Regions from separate parts of the Homo sapiens genome. Here region 2 is linked to region 1. The links are contacts of gene promoters, found by promoter capture Hi-C in blood cells and fetal thymus (Javierre and others, 2016). All regions are on one chromosome and are shown on one strand. Each heading gives the region's core, a stretch centred on a gene start or on the middle of the fragment in contact. The rest is flanking DNA. Distances are from core to core; before and after follow the strand shown. Region 1 holds the start of TAF4B (TATA-box binding protein associated factor 4b). Region 2 holds the start of TRAPPC8 (trafficking protein particle complex subunit 8).

Region 1 (6,651 bases), core at 2,711-5,210:
CCCAGGTAGCTGGGACTACAGGCACGTGCCACCACACCAGGCTAATTTTTGTATTTTTTGTAAACATGGAGTTTCGCCATGTTGGCCAGGCTTGTCTCAAACTCCTGGCCTCAAGTGACCCACCCTCCTCAGCCTCCCAAAGTGTTGGCATTACAGGCATGAGCCACTGAGCCCAGCCTGACTGATGTATTCTTTATTGCCAAGCTCATAGTAAGCACTCAATACGTATTACATAGATGAATGACTGAAGGTAGGTAGGGAGGAGAGGTTTTTGAAAATAATATAATTCAAGAAAATTGGTGTTATAATACAAAGTATAAAATCCTGTGTTTGCAGAATCTTTTACAAAAGAAATACTATTTTTGGGATTTTTGGCTTCTTAAACAGTCTTATTACTTTTTCCACACTTAATGTGAAGTGAAAAGAAATGATTACTCTCACTGAGAAAATAGCCTGTCTTCTTAGGTTAAGACAGTATTTGTAATAAGTTTCAGCTTGGCATAGCTTCAGCAAGCTACCATATTTGTCCAGGTTCATGAGATCCATTAAAGGTACTTGGATGCTATGTTGAGGAGACTGGAGAGTATTTAGCTGTGCTTACAGATTTCAATTGTCACTAAGAATATATATTTTAAGAAAAAGCTTGTTTTAATTTTGGATTATGCAAATAAGACGCATTCACTGTAGGAAAATTAGAAAATGCAGAGAGACAAAAACTATCACTTGGAATGTCTCTAAATAGAAATATCTTCCATTAATAGTTTTGTGTGTAATCTAATTTTTTATGAGTATCTGTTTATTGGTTAATAATTGTTTTTTTCTTTTGAGATGGAGTCTTGCTCTGTCACCTAGGCTGGAGTGCAGTGGGACGATCTCAGCTCACTGCAACCTCTGTCTTTCAGGTTCAAGCGATTCTCCTACCTCAGCCTCCCAATTAGATGGGATTACAGGTGTGTACCACCAAGCCCAGCTAATTTTTGTATTTTTAATAGAGAGGGGGTTTCGCCATGTTGGTCAGGCTGGTCTCAAACTCCTGGCCTCAAGCAATCCTCCTGCTTGAGGCCTCTCAAAGTGCTAGGATTATAGGCAGGAACCACCACATCAGGCATTTGCATATTATAAACAATTATAAGAAAAATGGGTGGCTCACGCCTGTAATCCCAGCACTTTGGGAGTCTGAGACAGGAGGATCACTTGAGTCCAAGAGTTTGAAATCAGCCTTGGCAACATATTGCCGAAATTACTTTTGCACCAACCTAACAGTTAGACCGTTGTCTTTGCAAAACAAACAAACAAGCAAACAAACAAAATTAGCCAGGCATGGTGGTACAGCCTGTGGTCCCCAGCTACTTGGGAGGCTAAGGTGAAAGGATTTCTTGAGCCCAGGAGGTTGAAGCTGCAAGTGAGCCATGATGGCCTCACTGAACTACTCTGGGTGACAGAGACAGGGATACCCTGTTCTCCCTTGCACGACCTCACCCCCACCCAGCCCTGCCCTGCCGAAACACACACACACACACACACACACACACACACACACATACACCAGAGAGAGAGAGAGAGAGGGAAATGCATGAGGTTAACTTTATGAAAAAATATAGTTCCCCAACCAAGTCTCTTTGTAATTTGATGGTGGAGGTTAATTGCCTATCTAAACAAAGTGTGTGAATTGATGGTGGGGGTCTAGTGGAAATTTAGAAAGGGAGAGTTCTATAAACAAACTTTGATGCTTCCGTACCCAAGTATCTATTGAAACATACTATATGGAGGGAAAAAAATCGGGGATAATTTGGCCAGTTAGTGAAGAACATATCTAAGATTCAAATACACTACACCATTTTGCTTCACTGAAAATGTTGCATAGCTTCATTCAATTCATTACCTTAGCAAGTATTTATTAAATGCCTTTTATGCTCAAGGCATTTTGCCAAGGGCACTGTGGGATACATGATTAATCAGACGTTTTGGAGTAATGGAAAGAGATGTACTTTGGCATCATACTGATGAGTTTGAATTCCAGCTTCTTGGAAACATTACTCTTTTAACTGCAGTTTTTAAGTTTGTAAAATGAAGCAGTTAGAAAAAGGAAATGCATCTCTTGGTGACCAGCACACAGGAGGTGCTCAATAAATTGAGTTTTTCTCTCCCCAACTCCACTTTGAGGCATTTGCTAGAAGGTAAGTGATCAGGGAATTCACCATAGAAAGGGAGGGTGATTGGTTTAGGTCATGAGATGGATTTAGACTGGTCAAGAAGTGAGAGACAGTAAAGGTAGTAAGTGTGTGGACTTTACTAGATCTTGTGAGTAGATCTTATCTAAACGTGCCGGCACACGTTTACAGAGAGGGGGAAAAGCAGGAGCTGTAACCATCAGGTTGCCTGCTATTTTAGTCCACTCGGGCTTCTATAATGAAATATCATAAACTGGGTAGCTTATAAAAAGAGAAATTCATGTCCCATAATTCCAGAGGTTGGGAAGTTCAAGATCAAGGCAGATGTGGTATCTGATGAGAGTCTACTTTCTAGACAGCAGTCTTTTTACCATAACCTCACTTGCTGGAAGGGGTGAGGGATCTTTCTGAGGTTTCTTTTTTTAAAAAAATTATTTATTTAATGTATTTAACTAACAAATAATAATTGTATGTATTTATGAGGTATCATGTTACATTTGTATGTGTCGTGAAATAATTAAATCAAGTTAACATATTCATCACTTTAACATGATTTGTCCTGAATGGAATCCCATTCATGAGGGCTCCACCCTTATGATCTAATCACCTTTCAAAGGCCCAACCTTCTAATATTATCAACTCCAGCTTTAGCATTTTAACACTCAGTTGGGGGTATAATCCTAGCACTTTGGGAGGCCCAGGCGGGAGCTCAGGAATTGGAGACCAGCCTGGACAATATAACGAGATCCCGTTTTTGCTAGGCATAGTGCCGCTCCCCTGTGGTTCCAGCTACTCGGGAATCTGAGGTAGGAGGGTAGGATGATCACTTGAGCCCAGGAGGTGGAGGCTGCAATGAGCCAATGGTGCCACTGCACTCCAGCCTGGGTGACAGAGTTAGATCCTGTTTCCAAAACAAAACAAAACAAAACAAAACAAAACAAAACACCACAACATTCAGATCATAGCATCTGCCTACTTGTAAAATCGCCTTTCAGTGCAGTGTTGGTTCCTACAAACATACAATATAATGACTTTAGCTTGAAATTAAGGCATCTTCTCTGACTGCATTACAAACAGGCAAGTTTTTTCATATCGATTCACTCAACACCTTTTATTTATCCAGATAATATCTAGGATCACGCTTAATATCTAAGTGCTAGAATCTAATTATATAGATATCAAAAGGCATTAAGTTTTTCAGAAGACAGACATACAATTTTAATGTTTAGAGGTGATAGAGACACCTATAGCAGCACCAAAGAAGAAACGATTTTCCATTTAAGATTTTAGGCAGTTTAACTCTAAAATATGAAAATAGGCACATCTCACAGACTATAAAACTATACGCCATTTTAATTTTTACAATGTCAATTCTAACTGCGAATTTTAGCAACGCTTCAGTGTGAAGACAGCAGAGAAAAACACTGAAAATGCGTGATTGAATTCTTATTGAGTCACTCTTCTCGGAAATCAGTCCTCCCCATTTTCTCCTTAAAAAATAGAATCCTGGAGATAGTCTAGTGCTGGCTTTTCGAGGAACACACTACAGGGGACACAAGGAGAGGAACACGGATGCCGCAGTTTTCCAAGTGCAGCTTGCCCCTCCCACGTGATAGGTTTCTGGCATCGCCCCTCCTTGCTGGCGATTCTGGGGAAGATTTTAACGCTCCCTGGAGCCGTCCCCAGTGACGTCACGGGCGCGGCTCCGCTCCTTGGCCAATCACGCGGCCGGATCCCGGGGAAACCCGGGGCGGTGGCGGCGGCCTGGGCGCGTGCGCGAGGTCTCCGCGTGGCTATATAAACATGGCTGGCGTGGCCGCGCGGCGGGGCCGTGCCAATCGCGCGTAGGGGGCTGTGGGCACTCGGGGTTCGTAGTTTTGAAATTTCTGGCGGGGGAGCAGCTGCGCAGTTAGGCTCGAGGTGTGAGCGACGACCTTCCGGGAGCCGCAAGTCCAGGCTCCCCCGCAGCGGGACCCGAGCCTGAGGCGCAGGGCTGAGGCAGCGCACGTGTGAGCGCCGCTGAGGAAGCTGCGAGAGGTCGGGCGGGTGTCGCTCCGGGGGCAGCCCAGGCTCGCGCGGACGAGAGGAAGGTCCGGGACGCGCGTGTCCTGCCGTGCAGCGGGCGCCCGTCACTGACTTCGCTGCTGCGGCCCCCGCGCCTCTCCCCAGCGATGCTGTGGAACCCGAACCGCACCGGAGTCGGCTGCCGCGCGCCAAGCCTCCCCTCACCTCTGCTCCCGGAACCGCAGCGCCAAAGCTGCCGCTGAGCCCCTGGGGGATGCCCGCCGGCCTCACCGAACCCGCCGGCGCCGCTCCCCCGGCTGCTGTGAGCGCCTCGGGGACCGTGACCATGGCCCCGGCCGGGGCGCTGCCGGTGCGGGTGGAGAGCACTCCGGTGGCCCTGGGCGCCGTGACTAAGGCTCCTGTCAGCGTCTGCGTGGAGCCCACGGCGTCCCAGCCCCTGCGGTCCCCCGTGGGGACCCTGGTGACCAAAGTGGCTCCGGTCAGCGCCCCTCCTAAAGTCAGCAGCGGCCCTAGGCTGCCTGCTCCTCAGATAGTCGCCGTGAAAGCCCCCAACACCACGACAATCCAGTTTCCTGCTAATTTGCAGCTTCCTCCAGGTATGTTGATAACCCTTTCCAGCCTTGTCTGTCGGTCCAGCTGGCGGCGACGGGAAAATTCGCAGCTCCAGATTGCTCCTAAAAAAACTGAGCCACGGGAACATTTCATAATCTTGACTTTACAGTTAACATATTCTTTTTGTGTCATTACTACATAGTTTTTCTTTTCATATTTAAGGAAAGAATCTTTTCACCTAAGTGATACAGTAAAAAGCTACATCAGCGTATTCGGGGGGGCTTTCAGGCACTGGCTCTTAGGTGGAGGAGATAATATAGCCGAAGTTAATTTCCATGTGGAGGATGGACCGGTTTATACCGTGGATTTCCATACGCTTAGATTATGTAGAAGTGCGTTGTACTTATTTTATTAATTATGAATGAATGAATGAACGAATGAGGTATGGTTTCGCTCTGTCGCCCAGTCTGGAGTGCAGTGACACGATCATGGCTCACCGACGTCGAACTCCTGGGCCCAATCGATCCTCCCGCCTCGGCCTCCCAAAGTGCTGGGATTACAGGCGTGAGCCACCGCGTACGGCCTAACAGTGAAGTTCTTGTGTATTACAACTGAAAGAGATTTTTAAATTTAACCAAGTCAGAATCGGTTTACTGCTTTCTAGTACCAAGTACGAATAATGCTGTTCCTGCACAATCTTTAAATGTCTTATGATTCTAACTTTCAATTAGCAGAACCCCTGACTGGGAACACGTGCCACAGTTGACAAACAGATCAGTCATGCAATTGTTACAGTTGCAATTGAAGCCATGTGTCAACGCTACTGTTAATGAGTCTTTCACTACTTTCTATCCTAGGGCTTTTTACTCTATTGGGCTGTATTTCATGGTTTGTATAAAGGTTTTGCTTTGTGATAATTTACATATTGTAAATATGCTGAATGATTTTGGGGTGTTCAGCCTTTCTTTACTGAAAGTCTCTTGGAGTTTGCTTTCTGTTAATTTTGTTTAGCAGTAATTGGAACTCTGAACTGCAAAGATGGTAAAAAAGGGGAAGCATTGATTCAAAAGATTCTATATCCCCTAATAAAATGACAGGGACCCTTTTTGTATCTAATGTTGTAGTTAGTCATACACGTTGTGGATAGATTTCACTTTTTATGAAGTTCTGTTTCAGTTTTATATGGTATACAAGGTATGTAAAATTGTTAAGGCACTGTTACGGCAGTGTGCAGCACCGAATACATTATTTGGCAGTTCTAAATTGTTATTCTGAGTTGTTATTCTGCATATATGTTTATAAAGTAGTTCTGAATGTGTTAGAATGAAATTACCCCCTAATTTGTTAAACTGTAAATCCTGTCTAGTCACTGAAGTTTGTTTATAAATAGTCAAAAAAAAAAAGTATTAAGAAAGAACTGTCTGAGAGGCTAAGGCACGAGAATCGCTTGAACCCGGGAGGTGGAGGTTGCAGTAAGCCAAGATATCTTGCCACTGCACTCCAGCCCAGGCAACAGAGTGAGACTCTGTTCCTCCCCATCCCTCCCCAACCCCCCAAAGAAAGAACTGTCAAGAGTGAAAATTTGCTGGTAAGTGAGAGTGAATCACTTACTGGAGGATTGGGGCCTTATCATGCTAAGCACTTTTAACAAATTATTTATATTCTTTTATTTGTTGGTCATAATAGGTAGGTAGCAAATAAGGAAAGAGGTCTCTAAGAGTAAATAATTTGTCCAATGCCAGGCAACCCATAGGTGTCGGGGGAGTTTTAGCTCAGGTCTGTTTATTCTTTCCACAACGCTATGCTTATTTTTTTACTTGTATGTGTACGGTATGCCTCATTGAGTGTCAGTACTGAAAGGTGATTCAGAGAACTTTAGATTCCAGTCTTTTATTTTATATAC
Region 2 (6,651 bases), core at 1,189-3,688, 5.7 Mb after region 1:
GGTTTCACCATGTTGGCCAGGATGGTCTCGAACTCCTGACCTCGTGATCCACCCGCCTCGGCCTCCCAAAGAGCTGGGATTACAAGCGTGAGCCACCGCGCCCGGCCGAAAATTTTTTAATTATACCTGTGACTCACATTATATTTCAATTAGACAGCACTGCTCTATGGTGTAAATACATAATTCTAAATACTGTCAGGAGATAAGATGATTAAGAACACAATGTCTTGAGTCACACTGCCTGTTTCAAATCTTTCCCAGACGCAAAACTGTGAACAAATTAACACTTCTATGCTTCAAGGTCCTCAAATTTAAAATTGCAATAACAGGATTCAATGAGGACTAAAAAAGAAAAGTTACACAAAGCAAGTATCAGGTATTAGCATTATTATTATTTATTAAGAAAGAAGGAAAGAGTACACATATAAAAGTAAAACTAGCTCAAGTGTTTGTGTTTTTTTAGGAATTCAAGGCCGGGCGCGGTGGCTCACGCCCATAATCCCCGCACTTTGCGAGGCCGAGGCGGGCAGATCACCTGAGGTCGGGAGTTCGAGACCAACCTGACCAACATGGAGAAACCCTGTCTCTACTAAAAATACAAAAATTATCCGAGTATGGTGGCGCATGCCTGTAATCTCAGTTACTCAGAAGGCTGAGGCAGGAGAATCGCTTGAACCTGGGAGGCGGAGGTGGCGGTGGGCTGAGATCGCGCCACTGCACTCCAGTCTGGGCAACAAGAGCGAAACTCCATCTCAAAATAAATAAATAAATAAATAACAAAAAAATAAAAAACGTAGGGCATTTTGTTGCTCTTAAGTCCAACACTGAAGGAACTGAGACTGATGGCTACGATACAGGCTAAAGAAAATCCAAAAGTTTCCAAACTTTGTTTTTTTGGACAGCTCCCTCTCTCCGCTAAAAACAAAAGCTAATTTATAATGGAACTATTCTCCCAAAAAACATGGTAGCGCAAAAATGGTACAGCACTGATTTTTTTTGTGGATAAGTCATATTAAGCTAACAAACATCACAGTCGTTTGCCTGACACAGGCTTATTATGAAACCCTTCAGTTCTTACCGACCTTAACAAAAAAAACTTTACTTGGACTTTGTTGTTTGCAAGATATTGGCTAAAACATGCTTGAAGCTTTACCACATTATTTTCTCCTAATAAAAAAATCCAAAACTGGAGAAAACGGGTAGCTTCTTAACAAGACATTCATTAACAAGAGAAGACATTTCCATCCCTATAACTATAGATAACTCCAAATATCCAGGTTAAATTAACCACAACTTGGGCTTGCTTCCTCTTCCTTAGGGCAAAAAGCTGCTTCAAGTTTTATTCTTCTTATAATACTTTTAATTTTCTTGAGAGGTTAAGCAAAATACCGTATAGCTAAGAATATATTAGTAAAACAGCTACACGGTAGTTCAGACAGAGATGACCCTCAACGCTACAAGAATGTAATAACATCCACAACTACTTTCAAAGTCCAGTTTAACATCCAAGGGAGGATGACAGGTCTTCCTTACTCAGACCCTGTCGGTCTAAGAGGCAGCATTTTCCTACCTTAGCTGCTTTGCAAGTGCCTAATTCCTTCGCTATGGCCGTGGAGAACAGTCTCAATGCCGTTCTCGAAGACTCACGTTTATCTTTGCACCAATTACTTAACGACCTAGGTTGTCCGAGGAAGAAAGGAAGTGCCCAGAGAAACTGGAGCTTAGGACTGCGCTGTCTTGACAACCTCACGGTCCCTCCTCCAGCCGCCCCCGGAGCACCGCGGGGCCACAGCCCCAGACGCCACGGTACCGGCTCCAGGACGTAAACACTGCCCTTCTCTTCCCTGCCCGCCCGCAACTTCCTTCTCCCGACCACGGCTTTGCGGGAGCCCACTGGAAAAGGGAGGATACCACATACCCTCGGAAGTGAGGCGGGAGAAGGGCTTAAGCAGCTCCGCGAAGCTGAGGTGATTGAGACGAGTGAGCCGCTCGGCTTCGTCGCTGCACAGCGCAGCGACACAGGGGACGAAGGAGTCCGGGATTAGCTCCTGCACTGATTGTACACACTGGGCCATCGCCGCAGCACAGGCAGCGGCGGCGCCCGCCCTCCGGCCCACCCTGCGAGGTTATCCTGCGGCTGCAGCAGCTACCGCCGCCGCCCGCCGGCCTGGCCCGGCCGGGCGGGGCCCCGAACGCACTGGAGCCTAGAAACAAGAAGGAACAGACGCCGCCGCTTCGGTTTCTGGGGCACAATCCACTGACCCCCCCCTTCCCGTCACCGCCGCTTCTCAGCGCTCGTCCCCGCGTGCTCGCATTCCACCCCGATAGGTGGAGACGCCGACAGTCACCACTTAGTCCTTCGGACGGCAAAACCTTGGTCACTGCCCGGCCGGAACCGCCATGTTGAGGCCGAACCCTGACCAACCGGCAGTACTACTCCCAGCTGCCCCCGCGCGCGTCCCTCACGTGACTGTGTTAAAGGAGACGGTAGGGGCAAGGGAAGAGAGCTGAGGAGAGGGAAGTGAAAAACGACGGAGGCCGGTTGGGAGGCTGGAGCCGGAAGTGTTGTGACGGAAGCTCCCTGGGCGGGGCGGGGCTACAAGTGCGGTGGGCGGGGGCGGGGGCGGGGGCGGGGGCGGGGGGAGGTGCACAACTGTAGGCCGGGTTCTCAAGCTCGCCCTTAGCAGAGCAGAGCTGAGAGCCACCTACTAGCGGCAGGTGGAGCCTCGAGACGGGTGCTGTCGTGGTGATGGAGGCGCACGCTCGCTTCCCACGCAGTTTGGCCTTTTTGACGTCCCTGGCTGTTGTGGGCAACCGATTTGGTTGGTCGCGCTGCTTCCTACGCTCGCCGGCGGAGCAGCTAGTGGCACCTGCTCGGAGAGAGGGAGTGGATCTCTCGGAAGTGCTTGGGGTTTCGCTGAAGCGGACCTGAACAGACCATGTGTCCTTTAAATACAGCCATGCTTTTAGAAACGGACTGTCACTTTATGTGGACTCAACCATTGAACAGAATGTGTGCTTTTGTGAGTGCTGCAATTCCTTCAAGTGTAATTGCGCTACTGCATTTTTGTTGGTCGCAGGGAAGGGGTGTGCCTGCAAATGTCCGCGTGGTTCGTCCTCAGCCTCTTCCTTTTTACACTGTGCTAGGATGTTTACTTGCTTGTGGTGGAGGTAGGGGAAGCCAGTATTTGTGTACTGTGTACTGTCCTGAACCGGCTTTCATTCCTAACTTTTCAAAGATTGCTTTAAAGGGGGGGGGGCGCGGGTCAAATATTGTTTTAAAGGGGGGGACGGGGTGAGGTCAATGGTGTGTGCCTTGTAAGTAGAAATGAATGAAAGGAATTTTACTAATGTGTCACTCAATTGTTTGAGCTCCTTCTGTTTTGCATGCCAAAAATATAAGGCAAGGAAAAATGTATCATTCTATCATGATTTTATGGTGCTCTAATTAAAGGTGTCTTCCCCAACGTCAATGTCTCAAATTTTTCGACTTCTTGACACCCTCAGGTTTTCACTAAGGTAATAATTTATGACAAGTAAGATGTGTGCTTCTCATGTAAGTTGATAAATGGGAGGTAGGAAGGCACAGTAGGACATATTGATGACATGCCTTGGCTACAGATTAATTTATAAGAGAGTCCATCACTTTAGGAGATTTATTTGCCGAAGTTAAGTACGAGCCCAGGAAACAGGTCTATGCCTTTCTTCGAAGATGATTTTGAGTGCTCCAAATTTAAAGGGGAAAGGGCGGGATATTGAGAAGCACACCGTTTTCATGTAAGGGGGCGGTAGGAGAAAATAGTAATTCTTGCCTTTCTCTGGCTCAGTGAATCTGCATTTTTTACATAAGATGACATAAAATGGGCAGAGGAAGAATGTGGGAGTCTGCATTTTTCATAAGATAACAGACAAAATGGGGTAGGGGAACAATCAGATAGGCATTTGTGTCTGGCGGGCTGGGGTGGCCACCTGTAAAGATAAGCTATCAATTTGCATTGCCATGAAGTTTTAACAGCACACTAAGAATTTCCTTGTGGGCAAAATACGGGGGAGAGATGTAGCTTTTCATCTTGCAGCAATCTTATTTAGGAACCAAAAGGGGGAGGCAGATTTGCGTGACCAGTCCCAGCGTGACTTTTCCCTTTGGCTAAATCAGTTTGGGGTCCCAAAATTTAATTTCCTTTTGCAAGAGATAACATGTTACACACAATCCCTTTTCAATGCTTCTGATTCACTTCCTTACCCTTTATAATGTGAGAATCTCACATAATTTAGTGTGACTCAAGTTATAAGATACATTTTTTATAACAGGACTCCCAAATGCAAACATACTATTTATCTAGTACTCTAAAAAGTTTCAAAGGCCATTTATTTTTATGCTGAAAGTAAAAACAGCTGAATTAGACTCTTTGAAAAGGACTTTCAATGGTAATTTAGCCAAAATAGATTTTTCTGAGATATAATTCACATGCCATAATATTTACCCCTTCAGATGAGTGTACAATTCATTGGTTTTCAGTTTATTCCAAAAGTTGTGCAACCATTACTACTATCTAATTCCAGAACATGTTCATCCCAAAAAGAAGGCTTGTACAGGCTTTTATCATTCTGCACCCTGCCATGCCCTCCAACTCCTGGCAATCACTAATCTACTTTCTGTCTGTGTAGATTTACCTATTCTGGACATTTCATATAAGTGAAATTATACAATATGTGGCCTTTGTACACATATTACTTCACTCATCAATATATTTTAAAGGTTCATCCATGTTGTAACATGAATCATTACTTCATTCCTTTTTATGGCTGAGCCTAAATGGATTTTTGTCTTATGCATTGACTTTGCAGTTGTTGTTTTTTTTTTAATATATAGAGATGAGGGCTCACTGTATTGCCCAGGCTGGCCTCAAACTCTGGGCTCTGGTGATCCTTCTGCCTCAGCCTCCCAAAATGCTGGGATTGCAGGTGTGAGCCACCACACCCAGCCTGACTTCACAATCTAATACCACACCCATACACAGTGTTTCCAGTGAGTAACTTCACTGTGTAAATCTAATTCTTTCGTAGTCTATCCTGGTCTCTTCTTTCTTTTGACAAGGTACTGTTTGAACTGTGGAAACACCTTAAAGGAGATGATACTGAGGACTTAACTCTGACATTTTTCCCCTCCTCCCCGAATTCCTATCTAAGGGGCCTGTGGAGTCACACCCTACAAAACATAAAATGTTATCAAATGGGCCGGGCGCGGTGGCTCACGCCTGTAATCCCAGCACTTTGGGAGGCTGAGGTGGGTGGATCACGAGGTCAGGAGTTCGAGACCAGTCTGGCCAACATAGTGAAACCCCGTCTACCAAAAATACACAAAAAATTAGCTGGGCGTGGTGGTGTGTGCCTGTAATCCCAGCTCCTCAGGAGGCTGAGGCAGGAGAATCACATGAACCCAGGAGGTGGAGGTTGCAGTGAGCCAATATCGTGCCACTGCACTCCAGCCTGGGCAACAGAACGAGACTCCGTCTCAAAAAAAAGAAAAGTTATCAGATGGGTTTTATGTAAACTTATATAATATGGCTTACTTTCCAACTTGACTCTGGCATAACATCACATGACAGATAAAGGAAATCAAAGTATTTTACCTCAAAATATATTTCTTTGCCGTATTTTGAAATGCCCCTGCAAAGCTATTTTGTGGGGAGAGAGGTAATTGCATCTGTTAAGAATCTCTGTTGGCTGGGTGCAGTGGCTCACACCTGCAATCCCAGCACTTTGGGAGGCCGAGGCATGTGGATCACCTGAGGTCAGCCCGGCCAACATGGTGAAGCCCCGTCTCTACTAAAAATTTAGCCGGCCGTAGTGGTGGGCTCCTGTAATCCCAGCTACTCTGGAGGGTGAGGCGGGAGAATCACCTGAACCCAGGAGGCAGAGATTGCAGTGAGCCAAGATCGCACCATTGCACTCCAGCCTGGGCAAGAAGAGCAAAAAACTCCATCTAAAAAAAAAAAAAAAAAAAAAAAAAAAGAATCTCTATCAACATAATTAGATGTTTCCCCCTTCCAGGCCCTCCCAATTCTGAAGAGATTAGCTGAGAGTCTAGCCCCTTTTACAGGTCAGAATAGGAAACATTTGCCATCTATTGTCTCTAAGGATGGCCACCTAGGAGACTTCATCTACATAATAAGAACCTTAGTGTCCACCACCCCTTATCTTAATCCAGGCATTCCTTTCTGTTTATTCCAGGTCTTTAAATAGTAACTTCACTCTTTCAACCAATTGCCAATCAGGAAATCTTTTAATCCACCTATGACCTATAAGCCCTCCCCCAAACCCTCTTCAAGTTGTCCCACCTTCCCCAACCAAACCAATGTATACCCCAAATGTATTGATTGGTGTGTTATGTCTCCCTAAATTGTATTAAAACCAAGCTGTAACCCAACAGTCTTGGGCACATATTCTCAGTACCTCTTGGGACTATGCCTCAGGCCTTGGTCACTCATATTTTGTTTAGAATAAACCTCTTCAGGGCCGGGCACGGTGGCTCACACCTGTAATCCCAGCACTTTGGGAGGCCAAGGTGGGCGGATCACAAGGTCAGGAGTTCAAGACCAGCCTAGCCAACATAGTGAAACCCGGTCTGTACTAAAAATACCAAAATTT

What was found. Contacts are between HindIII fragments. The CHiCAGO score rates a contact against its expected background, and 5 or more counts as called.
Region 2: a contact is called between the fragment with the promoter of TRAPPC8 here and the fragment with the promoter of TAF4B in region 1, in 1 of 17 cell types (naive CD8 T cells). The highest score is 5.1, in naive CD8 T cells.

Annotation. Positions count from the first base shown.
Region 1 is chr18:26,222,485-26,229,135 of GRCh38, forward strand. TAF4B (TATA-box binding protein associated factor 4b) reads left to right here and starts at 3,961. Exons shown (of 15, transcript NM_005640.3): 1 at 3,961-4,792. The coding sequence starts at 4,450. RefSeq lists enhancers at 3,591-3,660, 3,691-3,790 and a silencer at 4,441-4,600. The HindIII fragment of the contact is 8,704 bases long and covers 641-6,651 here.
Region 2 is chr18:31,940,690-31,947,340 of GRCh38, forward strand. TRAPPC8 (trafficking protein particle complex subunit 8) reads right to left here and starts at 2,439. Exons shown (of 29, transcript NM_014939.5): 1 at 1,919-2,439. The coding sequence starts at 2,075. RefSeq lists enhancers at 1,334-2,112, 2,214-2,423, 5,571-6,254, 6,255-6,651 and a silencer at 2,044-2,163. The HindIII fragment of the contact is 12,839 bases long and covers 1,146-6,651 here.